3 separate regions of the Homo sapiens genome follow, and regions 1 and 3 are each linked to region 2. Evidence: promoter capture Hi-C in 16 types of primary human blood cells and fetal thymus (Javierre and others, 2016). All regions are on one chromosome and are shown on one strand. Each heading gives the region's core, a stretch centred on a gene start or on the middle of the fragment in contact. The rest is flanking DNA. Distances are from core to core; before and after follow the strand shown.

Region 1 (4,578 bases), core at 334-2,833, 730 kb before region 2:
GAGTCACCGAATTGAGTTTGAATCTTAGGAAGCTGCTATGTGTTCTTGGCATTTCCTGCAACCTCTATGCTATCTCTTCTTCTGTGAAATGCCTGTGGATAATATTATCCACCTTCCAAAATTATTGTGAGAAACACATCAGATGACTGATTTTTCTTTTTAAATCTTTCTTTCTTTCTTTCTCTTTCTTTCTTTCTCTTTCTTTCTTTCTTTCTTTCTTTCTTTCTTTCTTTCTTTCTTTTCTTTCTTTCCTTTCTTTTTTTTTTGAAACAAGGTCTCCCTCTGCCACCAGGCTGTAGTGCAGTGGTGCAATCTCTGGTTACTGCAACCTCCGCCTCCAGGGCTCAAGCGATCCTCCCACCTCAGCCTCCTGAGTAGCTAGGACTAGAGGCAAATGCCATGACAGCCAGATAATTTTTGTATTTTTTTGTAGAGACATGGTTTCGCCATGTTGCTCTGGCTGGTCTTGAACTCCTGAGCTCAAGTAATCTACCTGCCTCGGCCTCCCAAAGTGCTGGGATTACAGGCATGAGTCACCATGCCCAGCCCAGATGACTGATATTTCAATGTCTTGTAATCTATTAAGGTTTACGTAAATATTATTGTTTAGCTTTGGAAATCGATCAAGGAATTGACAATGGTACCCAGAGCCCAGCAGTGGAACTAGAGGTCGTGTTGTTGGTGGTGCTTTATTCACTTGGCCGTATTCAGTGGGTAGGTTTGCAGCATGAGGTATCATGTGTGGGTACTAGCGGAGACCCGACATGCTGCACATCTGAGAGGCCAAGAGAAACTGAGGTAACCATCATTCCCCCGGGAGCAGCACCGCTGTTGGAGTGAGGAAGAGGTCAGTCTCTTATGATTAGGTAGAGATCCAATTCCTCAACACTTTGAACTAGCACAAAGTCCCCAGTGCTGAATGAGATGGGCTGACATCATAAGCTTTGTCTCCTCCTTTGTTTAGGCTCTGACCAGAGTTACACATGGTGAGTCCATTTTTAAAATTCATTTCCCAAGTTTGGGATTTTGTTAAGCTTTATGGTTTAGTGGATACAGTTAACAATTCTTTTCCAAACACCATTACATCTTAAGTTTTTTTCACATTTTTCAATGTAAATGTTCATATGTTCATCTTACTCACTCTCATAGTTTACTTCTGATCTTTTTTTTTTTTTTTTTGAGATGGAGTCTCGCTCTGTCACCTAGTCTGAAGTGCAGTGGCATGATATCGGCTCACTGCAACCTCCACCTCCCGGGTTCAAACAATTCTCCTGCCTCAGCCTCCCCAGTAGCTGGGATTACAGGTGCTCACCACCACACCCAGCTAAATTTTGTATTTTTAGTAGAGATGGGGTTTCACCATGTTGGTCAAGCTGGTCTTGAACTCCTGGCCTCAGGTGATCCACCCTCCTCGGCCTCCCAAAGCGCTGGGAATATAGGCATGAGCCAAAGCACCTGGCCTACTTCTGATCTTGATGTTAACAGTAGGGGATGCAATTTGTAGAGGAAGTGTGTTTCTGACAGGTGAGAGAACACTTCATGTAGGGTGAACAGTAAACTGTCCCAGACAGGGATGTGCTATGTAGATGAGCACTGGGAAGCCTGTGTTTTCTCAGAGCTCCTGAAGACACCCTGCTCCACATTAAACCAGAATCATCACGTCTCATCACAAAAAGAACATTAGTGTTATGGGGTATATTTTCTGTTTCATATTAAAAATTCCCAACCCCCAGCATTCTGACCCTGTCAAGCCCACGGGCTGCTACTAATTTGCATGGTTGTGTGATTTGTGTGATTCTGCTCCATCTGCTTTGAATTTCTTGGCTTCTTTGTCCAAGACGTTAATAACTCTAGTCATTTCTTGTGAGGATTTAAGGATGTTATTGATTGATTTTGGATTACAAAGAAACAAAAAGACAGTAGGCAATGTTCTAATTGGGTCTTCTTATTGTGCACTGTAGCCTGAATCCCCCAGGGTAATTAATATGAAGTGCAAAAAGTTGAATGTTCCAGTCTAAAAGGCAGTGGGAGAAATTACATAGCATGGAAATAATAAAATGAACTCTTATTAATGAGAACGAGGCTCTTGCAGTGGCAAGTTCTGCTGGTCACCCGATGGGGATGGGAGCCTTTCAAGCTTTTTTTTGGGTAATACTCACAGTTTCCAACGTCTGTGTACTTTTCAAAATGAGCTTGTTCTTCCTTCTGACACTCATCTCAAAGCTCCATGGTGACGCAGAGGTCTGTTGAAGGTCACAGGGTCCTCGCTTGCATTGGCATACGGTCCTGTAGCATCACTTGTTAGCCCACTGCTGCTTGAAGGAACTAAGAGTATTCAGGGATAGAGAGCTGAAAATAGGATTAATTCTTTCCTTTTGACTCTCCCCTCAAGATGTCCTTGCTTTGGTCTGAAAACCTCTCCTGACAACTTTTGCCCAAAGCAAACCATCTGCCTTTTCTGAACTCTGAGTGAATATATTAGCATCTTCCCTTCTGAGCCCTCGTACTGCCATGTTTGTTTGTTTGTTTGTTTCCAAGAAACTGTGTCTTGCTCTGTCACCCAGGCTGGCATGTAGTGGCATGATCATGCTCACCGCAGCCTCAAACTCCTGGGCTCACGTGATCCTCCTGCCTCGGCCTCCCAAAATGCTGGGATTACAAGTGTGAACCACCACGCCCAGCTGTAATGCCACATTTCAATCTTCCCTCCCAGTGAAGACGACCGTTTCTTTGAGGACAGATGCTGTGTTCTTTACTTCTCTATGTCTCCCTTAGTCCTAACATGTGGCTTCCAAGTAATGCAGCGTATGCTCAACCAAGAGGGATGGTCAGCAAACAGCCCATGAGGAAAAGTAGCATTTGTTCCTAGGAAAACCGAATTATTTGCTTTAGTAATGAATCCAAGTCCAACATAGTTACGTGCAAGGAAACATTTCATCCAGAATACTAATGACATCAGCATGGAGAGAGAAGAGTCTAAAATAAAGATCTTTTTAAAGTACTTAAAGGAGGCCAGAGAATATCATCACATAAAGTATAATATAGGACCCTACCCCTACCAAGCACGGAGATCCCTTGCCTTCATCGTTCAAGGTCAGATTGGAGATTTCAGAGAACCCTAGGTTGCAAGAAACGTGTTTGGAGTTTTGGGGAACAGATAAAACAGTAAGCAGTAGGAAAAAAAATCACCAGGTTTTTTTTTTTTTCAGATGGAATTTTGCTCTTGTCGCCGAGGCTGGAGTGCAATGGTGCGATCTCAGCTTACTGCAACCTTTGCCTCCCGAGTTCAAGCGATTCTCCTGCTTCAGCCTCTCGAGTAGCTGAGATTACAGGCGCATGCTACCACACCCGGCAAATTTTTGTATTTTTAGTAGAGACAGGGTTTCACCATGTCAGCCAGGCTGGTCTCTAACTCCTGACGTCAGGTGATCCACCCGCCTCGGCCTCCCAAAGTGCTGGGGATTACAGGCGTGAGCCACCGTGCCTGGCCAGATTTTTAACTCAGGAAAAATTTATATTCTCCTCACTCATCTTTGAATTATACTAACATCATTAAATGAAGGAGTGGAATTGCTATAAAACTTACTACTAATCCTGATTCTGCATTCACTCATCATTTGTTTTCTCATTTATTCACTCATTCTATAAACAAATTGGACACTCCCTCAAGATCAGTGCTGTATCTGATTCCTTTTGAAATGTCCTCTTTCCTCTTTCCCCCAAGCCTCGCCCACAGCAGGTACTTAGTAGATGTTTACTGAACAGGGTTGGTGGTGGACATGCCACTTCTTTGAAATATTTTTTTCTTTGGCCGGGCACGGTGGCTCATGCCTGTAAATCCCAGCACTTTGGGAGGCTGAGGTGGGCGGATCACGAGGTCGGGAGATTGAGAGCATCCTGGCTAACACAGTGAAACCCCGTCTCTACTAAAAATACAAAAAATTAGCCAGGCGTGGTGGTGGGTGCCTGTAGTCCCAGCTACTCGGGAGGCTGAGGCAGGAGAATCGCTTGAACCCAGGAGGCGGAGGTTGCAGTGGGCCGAGATTGTGCCACTGCACTCCAGCCTGGGCAACAGAGCAGGCCTCCGTCTCAAAAAAAAAAAAGAAAGAAATATATTGTTTCTCCCCTCCACCACCGCTTTTCAAAATAAATAGTGTCAAATGATGCTTATTCCCTTGGAAATATGGGGGAAAATGCCTGCAAGTCATAGATTAGGTTTAGAAACTGGGGCAGTTTATTGATTTCAAAAAGAAGTTTAGATCATGTCTGAAATAGAAACTTTTAGACATTGTGAATAAGTGGGATTGTCTGAGACTCGAGGGTTAAACATAAAGTTCTTGGCATAAATATAATGTATTGTTTTATTGTACTTAAAGCCCCTTGTTTTTTGAAGACAAGCATCTCATGTCCCATGACACAGGAAATGACTGGGATTCTAAAAGCAAGAGAACATGGCGCCCTGATACTGGTTTAGTGGTTAGTGGAAAGATGCATTTCTCTAGGGTAGAAGAGAGACAGGTGATGGCATAAGCCGGGGATATGAACTCTAGGGACCTGGAATTCTTCAAATGTGACCTG
Region 2 (3,983 bases), core at 1,064-3,563:
TAAGAGGTATACACTTAAATTCAGAGTGCCCAGAACAAACTTAAAGCTTCCTCCCTTGTTTCTTCTCCCTCTTCCCAAGCTGCCCATAGAATCTTCTGGCCCCTGTCTTGTGGACCATCCTTTTGTGTTTTTGGCCTCCAAGCGAATGGTGGTGTCCTGGCTTCCTTTCTTCCCATAAGCCCCTGAGACCCTCATCTTCTATGTCAAGAGCCCGCCCAAAACTCAGGTTCCTTGAACTGGGAAGTTATCAGATCCCTTGCAAAACACTCGTCCTTGGAGGAAGTACAAGGCAGTGAACAAACTCTGTGGAACTTGGCTTAGCTCCCGATCCTGAAGTTTGGAGTTACAGTGCAATCTCCTCAGCATCCCTGGAGCCGGAAGAGGTGACCTTGGCAGGCCTGACACCTGATGGCAAGGGGTTTCTGCTTTCTGTGCTATGTCCAGGAGTTAAAGTAGAGTGAAACCAAATCACTCCTGAGAGGGCCAGTGGCTGGATTTCAGAAACGGGGGCTGACATTCCAGGGAGTCATTTATGGGAGGGCCTGGCCTTGGCTCTTCAGCCGCAGTATCTCTCTCCCTGAGGAAGAAATATTTCCCTTGGTTTCCCAGCCTCTCAAAAGTTGTGTAATGTCAGGATGCCTTGAGCTTTTCCATACTTGACAAGTGTCATTGCAGAGCTTGGTAGATCCATAGCCAGCTGTCATCCTTGATGTCTTGCTGAACTGCAGGGATGTATTTACTTGCAGTGAATTCTTGTGATCTTTAGGGATGTGAATTTTCCTCAGCTTCGGGACACTTGTGAAATGTGACTTTTGTCCTGGCACGGAAGCTGGGCATTGGCTCCCAGATGGAAACTGGACTCTGAGAGAGGCAGAAAAGAAGGGTGGATCAGATTGTGGACTTCATGGTATGTTCTTGGGTGCTTCTCATGATCTCTTTGAAAGTTACTGACCAGGCTGGGCATGGTGGCTCATGCCTGTAATCTCAGCACTTTGGGAGGCCAAGGTGGGCAGATCACTTGAGGCCAGGAGTTTGAGACCAGCCTGGGCAATATAGCAAGACCTCATATCGACAAAAAGAAATAAAACTTAGCTGCGTGTGGTGGTGCGCACCTGTACTCCCAGCTACTCAGGAGGCTCAGCTGGGAGGACAGCTTGAGCCCAGGAATTCAAGGTTGCGGTGAGCCATGACTGCACCACTGCACTCCAGCCTGGGCAACAGAGTGAGACTTTGTCTCTTAAAAACAAAACAAAACAAAACAGTTACTGACCCAAGAGACAAATGCATTGGGCTGGGGTTGAAGGAGGAGAATGGCTGCTACAGCCCTGCTCTAGGAGCTGGGCTGGGTTAGACTCAGTGCCCACAGAGAGCACCTAAATAGGATGGATCGGTTCTAGGGTTGATGATCTCTTAGGGCCTGGGTCTAGAGAGTGAGTGTGGTTCAGCACATCTTGGGATGCTACCAGGACTGAACCAGACTTCCTAGGTTCCATGACATGGGGACATACTGGATTCTGTGACTCAGTCCATGGCAGGCTGAAGCAGAACTGAATCAGCCCTCAGCAATGTAAGGGGGGGTACCCTCGACTCCCTGGGGCTCTGTTGGATGCATTGCTTTGTGGGTGCTCACCGACTCCTCATTTCATTCTTTGCTAGGGACGCGGCTATGGTACTGGCAGCTGGCTCATGTACAGGGTTCAGGCCCCATTTTCCTTACTGGTCCTGTGTCCTTTGTCTCTCAGACCCTGTTGTCTGTCTTTCCTTGGTATGTCATGTCTGGTATCCTCAGCTCACGCCGCCACGGGAGAACTGTCCTCTTCTCAGCTTGTCATTTTGGAAGCAGCCTCCAGCAACCTTGCTTTCCTCCTCTGACTATACTCCGGCCTGCAGTGCCACTACTCACGCCCCCAAATAATTTAAACTGCCTTTCTTAGGAGACAAGAGCTAGTTGAAAAGTCTCCTCATTTTCCTTCAACCCTGTATCATGGGTGGCCTGAGAGAGTGAGGACTGAATTCATTGACTCCCCTTTCTCTGCACCCCCCACCCCCAAGGAAATAGCCGAGTTCGACTAATGGGAGTTGCCTGGCCAATCGTTGCCCTGAGAAAGTTTGGTTTGTGATCCTATTTCAGTAGGCTGATTGGAGCAGCCTTTACTTGGAGGTCGAGTCCCTCCCCGAGGGAATCCGTGTACAGTTACACTAGCGGTCGCTGCCAGTGCTAGCCCATTCAGGATAGCCCCCCTCACCCCGCCCCCAGCCCCCGCTCCTCCTCCTCCTTTTTTGTTTTTATCCAGTGTCTCGCTTCCTCTCTCTCTCTCTCTCTCTGTCTCTCTCTCCCTTTCCCTCCTACCACTGCCTCTTCCTCCCGCTCTCTACCTCCCTGCAGCGCCAAGCCGGCTCCCCAACCTGGTCTGCTGAACGCAAACCGCTGAGAGTTTGCTGCACCGCCCCCTGGGGCCCCTGGCTGCCGAGTCCCGCTAAGGCAAAGACGCCAGCAAGCGAGGAAGCGCAGCGGAAGAAAAACAAGCGGGCGCGCGAGGGGAGCCCCAGGAGGGCTGCCGAGTGGCTGGCAGGCGGCTCCCGCCCCTCCCGGGTGGCCTCGCCGGCGGCTGACGGCCCGGAGGACGCGCGCTCCGAAAAGTTAGACTCCGGGCGGCGGCGCGCTACGCCGCGTCCCCTCGCGTCCCTTCCTCGCTGCGCTCCGGGAAAGGAACTTGTTCCTTCGGCCCCAGGATTGGGGAGTGTGCCGCGGGGCCGAGGGTGGGGAACAGCCAGAGGGAGACGCGAACCAGGCCGCTGGCGGAGGGCTCAGGGGGAGCGCAGAGGCGACGGCCCCCATGCCGGCGGCCAACATGATGGAGAACCGGCCGCTGCCCGCCCTGCAGGTGCCCGAGCCGCAGGGTGCGCCCGAGGGCAGCCCGGTCTGGTCCAGTTCGTCGACCCCCACGCTTCGCCGCCGGCGCTTCAAGATGCGCCGCATGAAGAACGTACAGGAGCAGAGCCTGGAGGCCGGGCTGGCCCGGGACCTGCCCGCCGTCTTGGCCCCCGGCAAGGAGTTCCTGCAGCTGCCGTCCATCGAGATCACGCCCTCCAGCGACGAGGACACCCCGTGGTCCAACTGCTCCACACCCAGCGCGTCCCCGCGCCGAAAACGCTTCCTCCTCCGCAAGTGGCTGAGGGTGAGGGAGCGGAAGGAGTGCAGTGAAAGCAGGTACGTCCCCGTTCCGCCCGTCTCCTTCCCTTCCCTCCCGTCCTCTCCAGAGCCGTCCAGGGCCCCGGGGCATTCTGGGGGAAACGTCCTGGGGGAGAACAGGAGCCCGTCACCAGAGGCGCTTCTGGAGGGCGCTGCGCCTGGTCCCAGGGATGGTGGCATTCAGCTTCCACGCGTGCCACCCGCTCCCCAACTCAGGGTGAGGGGCTTCATGTTGCACGACACGTTTACGTGGGGCTTTACGCTGCATTCCATCTCCCTTGATCCTCGCAGCGAAATAAATAATAAAAATAATAACAGCTAATAGTTATTGAGCCCTTACCATGTGCGGGCCACTATGTTGCGCACTTCATGTACCTCCAGATTTCATCCCTACGCAAACTCTCTGAGGTAGGTATTACTATGGCTCCCTTTCTACAGAAGGAGATAGTAAAAGGCCAGAGAACAGTTAAGTGGTTTATATTTCAGGACTCCGTTTCAATCTTATTTTATGTTTGGCCACACCGGATTGCCTTAACTGGCTCACTTGTGTGGAAGTGAAATATTGACATTGAGTGAGTCACATTTCCTACCATATCAGAGTCTTTAGACATCGATACCTACAAGACTGTGGTTTGTACCAGCTAGTTTTTTGCCTAGGTCAATGTGGCATCTGGGTAATGGGAGAAGGTTGAGCTTCCCTCACGTAGAGAATTGCTGCAGGGCGCCCTAGAGCAGCTCTACACAGCCCTGGTCAGGACTGCTGCTTCAGGAAGTTGTGTCTGAGCCAAGC
Region 3 (4,291 bases), core at 1,621-4,120, 680 kb before region 2:
GAGGAGCGGTGGTCCTCCCAGGGAGCCCGTCTGCCTGAGTGGCAAAAGCAAGGAGCAGGGTAACACTGGCATCTGCAAGCACGTCCTGGAAGCTGCCTGAGGCCTTCCATCCACACTGAAAGACTCACCTCTCAGCTTGTATCTTTTTTTTCTCTCAAACTTTAAAACAAATAATTTCTTACCACTCCAAAAATGCATTCCTGAGAAACTGGATCACGTAACAAACAGATTAGACTGTCAGCCTTCCTAGCTGGATGGGCAGGCAGCACGTCTAGTCCATTTTCCTATTCCCAGTACTTAGCACAGTTCCTGGTAGCTGGCAGGGGTCAGTGCATTCATTCAGCAAGTATTTATGGGGTGCTTACCATGTGGCAACACAGATCATAACAAAGTCTCTGATCTCAGGGAGTGTACAGCACTGGGGAGCATGATCACAGTCCCATGAATACATAGGTACATGTGACAGGTGCTGAAAATCTTGGATGAAAGAATGGATTCCGTTTCCAGCTCTTTCCATAGCTTTGTAGAAGAGACTCCGGCTTTTTCTGGCTATTGGGAGAGGCAAGGCCATAATCAATATGCCTTTCTTCCTTTACAAAGATATTATTGACCCACAGGCTTTGAAAACAAAAATTTTCCCTTAGTGAGAAAATATAAATGGATAAGCTTCATCTCCCCTGCCATGCCCTCTCTCACTCCTGTGACCACCTTGTGACTTCTTGGGTCCCTTCCCCCATTGCACCCGCTGTTCCGTCACTCTTGTCTGGGTAGCAAAATCCCACTTATCTATCAAGGCCCAGCTCAAATCCTGTCCCTTCTGGGGCAGAGGTCATCTCCCGATAGGTGACCCACCTGCATGCTTTAAATGACTGGGGGAGCACGTATATCACAGCATTACGATTATTTGCTCTGTGTTTGTTTTCTGTCTCAGCTGAGCTCCTTGAGGCCAGAGACTTTGTTTTGTCTATCACTGAAGTTCCCAGAGCCTGGCACGGGACCTCGTCCTTCTTAGATGTTCAACATGTGTGGGATGGATGAACGGATGGGTGGGTGGGCAGACGGATAATTAGATGAAGGCTCCGTGCCCGCCCTTGTGTCATGAAAGATATACACTACAAAGATGGCAACCTAGGACTGAGCTAAGGCCCAGGGACCATGCAAAGGATAGTGTTTCAACAGTGGCTGGCATTGAGTAGGGCAGCTTTTACGTTTTTATAAATAACCTGAAAAAGGAAGTTCAGACTGAAACTCACACGTCTATGGGTGACACAGAGCTCTTTCGGTAGGGAGGTTCCATGCCAAAAGGGTAGAGGAGGGGAGGATCCCCTAAGATATGAGTGGGCGGACAAGTGGAAGGTTGCTTCAGCGTGAACAAACTCAAACCACTGTATTGACGCGGAAGTTATCTGAGGTATAAGATGGTGCCTCCGGGTGATTAAGTTTGACAAGAAAGCGTCACTTCATTCAATCAATAAATTAAACACCTACTATGTGCTGGGCTTTGTGCTCAGGCCTTTACCTCCTACCCTTGAAGATCTCAGAGTCTAATGGAGAAGAATGCTTCCAATGTAGTGGGAAAAATAGACATAGAAGGAAATAATTAGAGATAAGACTGGAAGGGCTAATAGAAGAATGGTAGAGAGTGCTATGAGACTTCCGAAGAGAGCTGCTCTGCTATCTGTGGTGGGGAAGTCGGGAGGATTTATTCATTCTGTACTTATTTCATGAATAGTTCAGGGCATTTACCGTGTGCTCAGTTTTGAAGGCACCAAGTTAAACAGATATGGAGTCTTATCTCCAAAGAGCTTACAGTCCACTGGGAGTGATGGATAGGTAAAGTGTGGGAGGGGCCGTGAGGGGGGATTTGTGATTCAGAAAGGATTTCGCTGAATGGTGAAATCTTGACCTAAAGTCATCCTTTAAATTCATTAGGCAGAAAAGGGGGAATGTGGACAATCCCAGCAGAAAAAGCAAAGTGGGCAAAGGTTCAACAGAGAGAACACCAGGGTGTGTTTTGGAAACTGCCGAGGCTCCTGGCTGAAGCAGAGGCTGCGGGGTGGGGGTGGTCACCGGAGAGGCAGCTGGGCTGACAGGGGCCAGCACAGGCATGGCCAAGGATATGGGGAACCTCTGCAGGATTTTAAGCAGGACAGTGATGTGATCTAGATTAATGGTTAAGAAAGATTATTCTAGTCTTGGTGGAGGGTGGACTATAAATTGGAGAATGAAAGGGAGAGTGAAACCAGCAGCCAATAGGACCCCTAAAATCGTCTTAGCAAGAGCTTATGCACTGAGAACAGAATGAGTTAATAGACCCAGAACCAGTGGAGTGGAATTGTCCTGATGACACCAGCCAAGGAGTTTGGGGAAATGTTATTCTCTCACTGTGCATGTAAGGCACCCTGTGGGGACAGTGCTGAGCTTAGGACCTAGAGGCAGCATCAGATAGGAGGGGAGAAAAATACACCAGAGTCCTGGGGAGTGTGGGCTGGGCCATGGCTCTGTGTCCTTAGAGAGTTATGAGACTTGACTGAGCCCCCGTTGGGACTGCTGTGAGAAAGAAGCGGGATAACATATTATAAACAATAGCATCTGCAGCTGGAGTGATGTTGGGTGGTTTGGGTTCCTGTACGTTTGGAGACAGAGTCAAAGCTGGGGAACGTCTTTAAGCTTCTGAAAGCTTTCTTTATAGAGACGCAATGAAAATATTAGAGCTGTTCTATCTGGAAAGTACAAAGGGAGGATGCCAAAGTTTAAGTAAGCTTCATAGCACAGGCATGGAGAGGAACTCAAACTGCCTGGTTTCAAATCCTGCCTTTGTGACCTAAGATCCATATATTCCCTTGAGTGAGCTATTTAACCTTTCAAAGCCTCTGTTCCCTCATTTGTGTAACAGGGATAATAATGAGCTGACTGTTGTGAGGGTTAAATGATACAATGCAGGTAAAGAGCATAGTACATACACCACGTTACACATGATAAGCTTGTAAGTAGCAGCAGCTATGAAATCATTAACTGGGACAAAAGTCTGCACACTCAGTCCCCCAATCCTGCAAAAGGAGGATCCTGCAAAAGGAGAGCAAGAATACCTCCCTTGTGTTGGAAGAAACACATTGTGGCAAATAAGAAAAGGTGGAGCGACTTCACATAGTGGTTTAAAACTGACAAAATCCATCATTCCAAACAAATCGGTGTGGACAACTTCAGACCGTCATTCTGCCTTTCAGCTGTAGGTGGGAGTTGAGTAGCAGCTGCCATCTTTCTTTCATTGTTTTAACTTTTTGGAAATTATCAACATTCACAAAAGCAGAGAGGATAGTGTAATGAACCCCCATGTATCTTCATCCAGATTCAGTAACGATCAACATACCTCCAGTCTGGTTTCATCCCAGCTGCCCCTATAGACGGGCACGCGCCATCCCAGCTCCCTGTGCACTCGGAGAATTCTCTTCCTTACTTGCTTTTCCCTCAGTGGAAATGGAAAACAGCCTGTTGTTAATGTCATTTAATCTCAGTTTAGCTTCCTTTAGGTTGGGCTAAATAATTTACGTTTATGCAATTTATTACTACAAAGCATTTCTTGACATTTTCATCTTCTCCTTGATTCTTTGAATACCTCCATTTCCTCCCGTCCACAGAAGATTGTGAACCCAGAACAAGACACAAGAGCTCTGTGAGTGTCCATCCAAGGGTCGCAGTGACGTGAGGCTAAATGCAAGGCCTGCTGCCCACCCAACTCTAAGCGCCTACCAACCCCAAACTGTGTCACAGTCCCTGGGTCTCTTGCACACGCTTGTGCTTAATACTGATTTGCCACTTAACAAGTCCCTTGGATGTCAGCAAAAGAGTGAGTACACGGAAGGAAAGAGAGCCCTTGTTTTTTCTTTCTTTTTTTTAAATTAATTTTTATTTTTTAAAGAACACATCACCTCTGCCAGAACCCTCAACTTTGGCTACGCCTACATGGAGAATGTTTTCATGGCCAAGACAGTCCACGACAGCTTTATGTTCTCCTGGACCTGGAGAGGTCCCAGCACACTGTGTGCCCCATACTACACATAGCAGTATGTGCATCATCACTGTGAGAGGAAGAGCCTTCTGCTGACACATCGAAAGTACTCAGATCGGATCCCTTGTGGCTTTGGCTGTCATCAGAAGCCCTCCCCTGAGATACAGCTGAATCATGTACTGCATGTCTTTAGTTGGTGTCTAATTTGTGGGGCTGGCAGCCTGGAATGTAGTTATTGCAAATGATACTAATCTCTGAGCTGCATTCCAGAGCGAAACTGCT

The links. The method cuts DNA at HindIII sites, captures the fragments that hold promoters and counts their contacts. A CHiCAGO score of 5 or more calls a contact.
Region 1: a fragment that was not itself captured here is called in contact with the fragment with the promoter of GRAMD1B in region 2 in 1 of 17 cell types (fetal thymus); the score reaches 5.5 in fetal thymus.
Region 3: a fragment that was not itself captured here is called in contact with the fragment with the promoter of GRAMD1B in region 2 in 1 of 17 cell types (fetal thymus); the score reaches 5.2 in fetal thymus.

What each region holds. Positions count from the first base shown.
Region 1 is chr11:122,699,336-122,703,913 of GRCh38, forward strand. The region is part of intron 1 of UBASH3B (ubiquitin associated and SH3 domain containing B); the gene reads left to right. Among named protein-coding and RNA genes, the nearest start is that of UBASH3B, 46 kb to the left of the region's middle. The HindIII fragment of the contact is 1,103 bases long and covers 1,033-2,135 here.
Region 2 is chr11:123,427,956-123,431,938 of GRCh38, forward strand. GRAMD1B (GRAM domain containing 1B) reads left to right here and starts at 2,314. Exons shown (of 20, transcript NM_001387025.1): 1 at 2,314-3,211. The coding sequence starts at 2,838. It overlaps LOC124902776 (a long non-coding RNA gene), which reads right to left and starts at 3,259. Exons shown (of 2, transcript XR_007062928.1): 1 at 2,992-3,259; 2 at 1-861. RefSeq lists silencers at 2,452-2,781, 2,892-2,941. The HindIII fragment of the contact is 5,032 bases long and covers 45-3,983 here.
Region 3 is chr11:122,745,017-122,749,307 of GRCh38, forward strand. The region is part of intron 1 of UBASH3B (ubiquitin associated and SH3 domain containing B); the gene reads left to right. Among named protein-coding and RNA genes, the nearest start is that of CRTAM, 91 kb to the right of the region's middle. RefSeq lists enhancers at 1-428, 4,201-4,250. The HindIII fragment of the contact is 221 bases long and covers 2,761-2,981 here.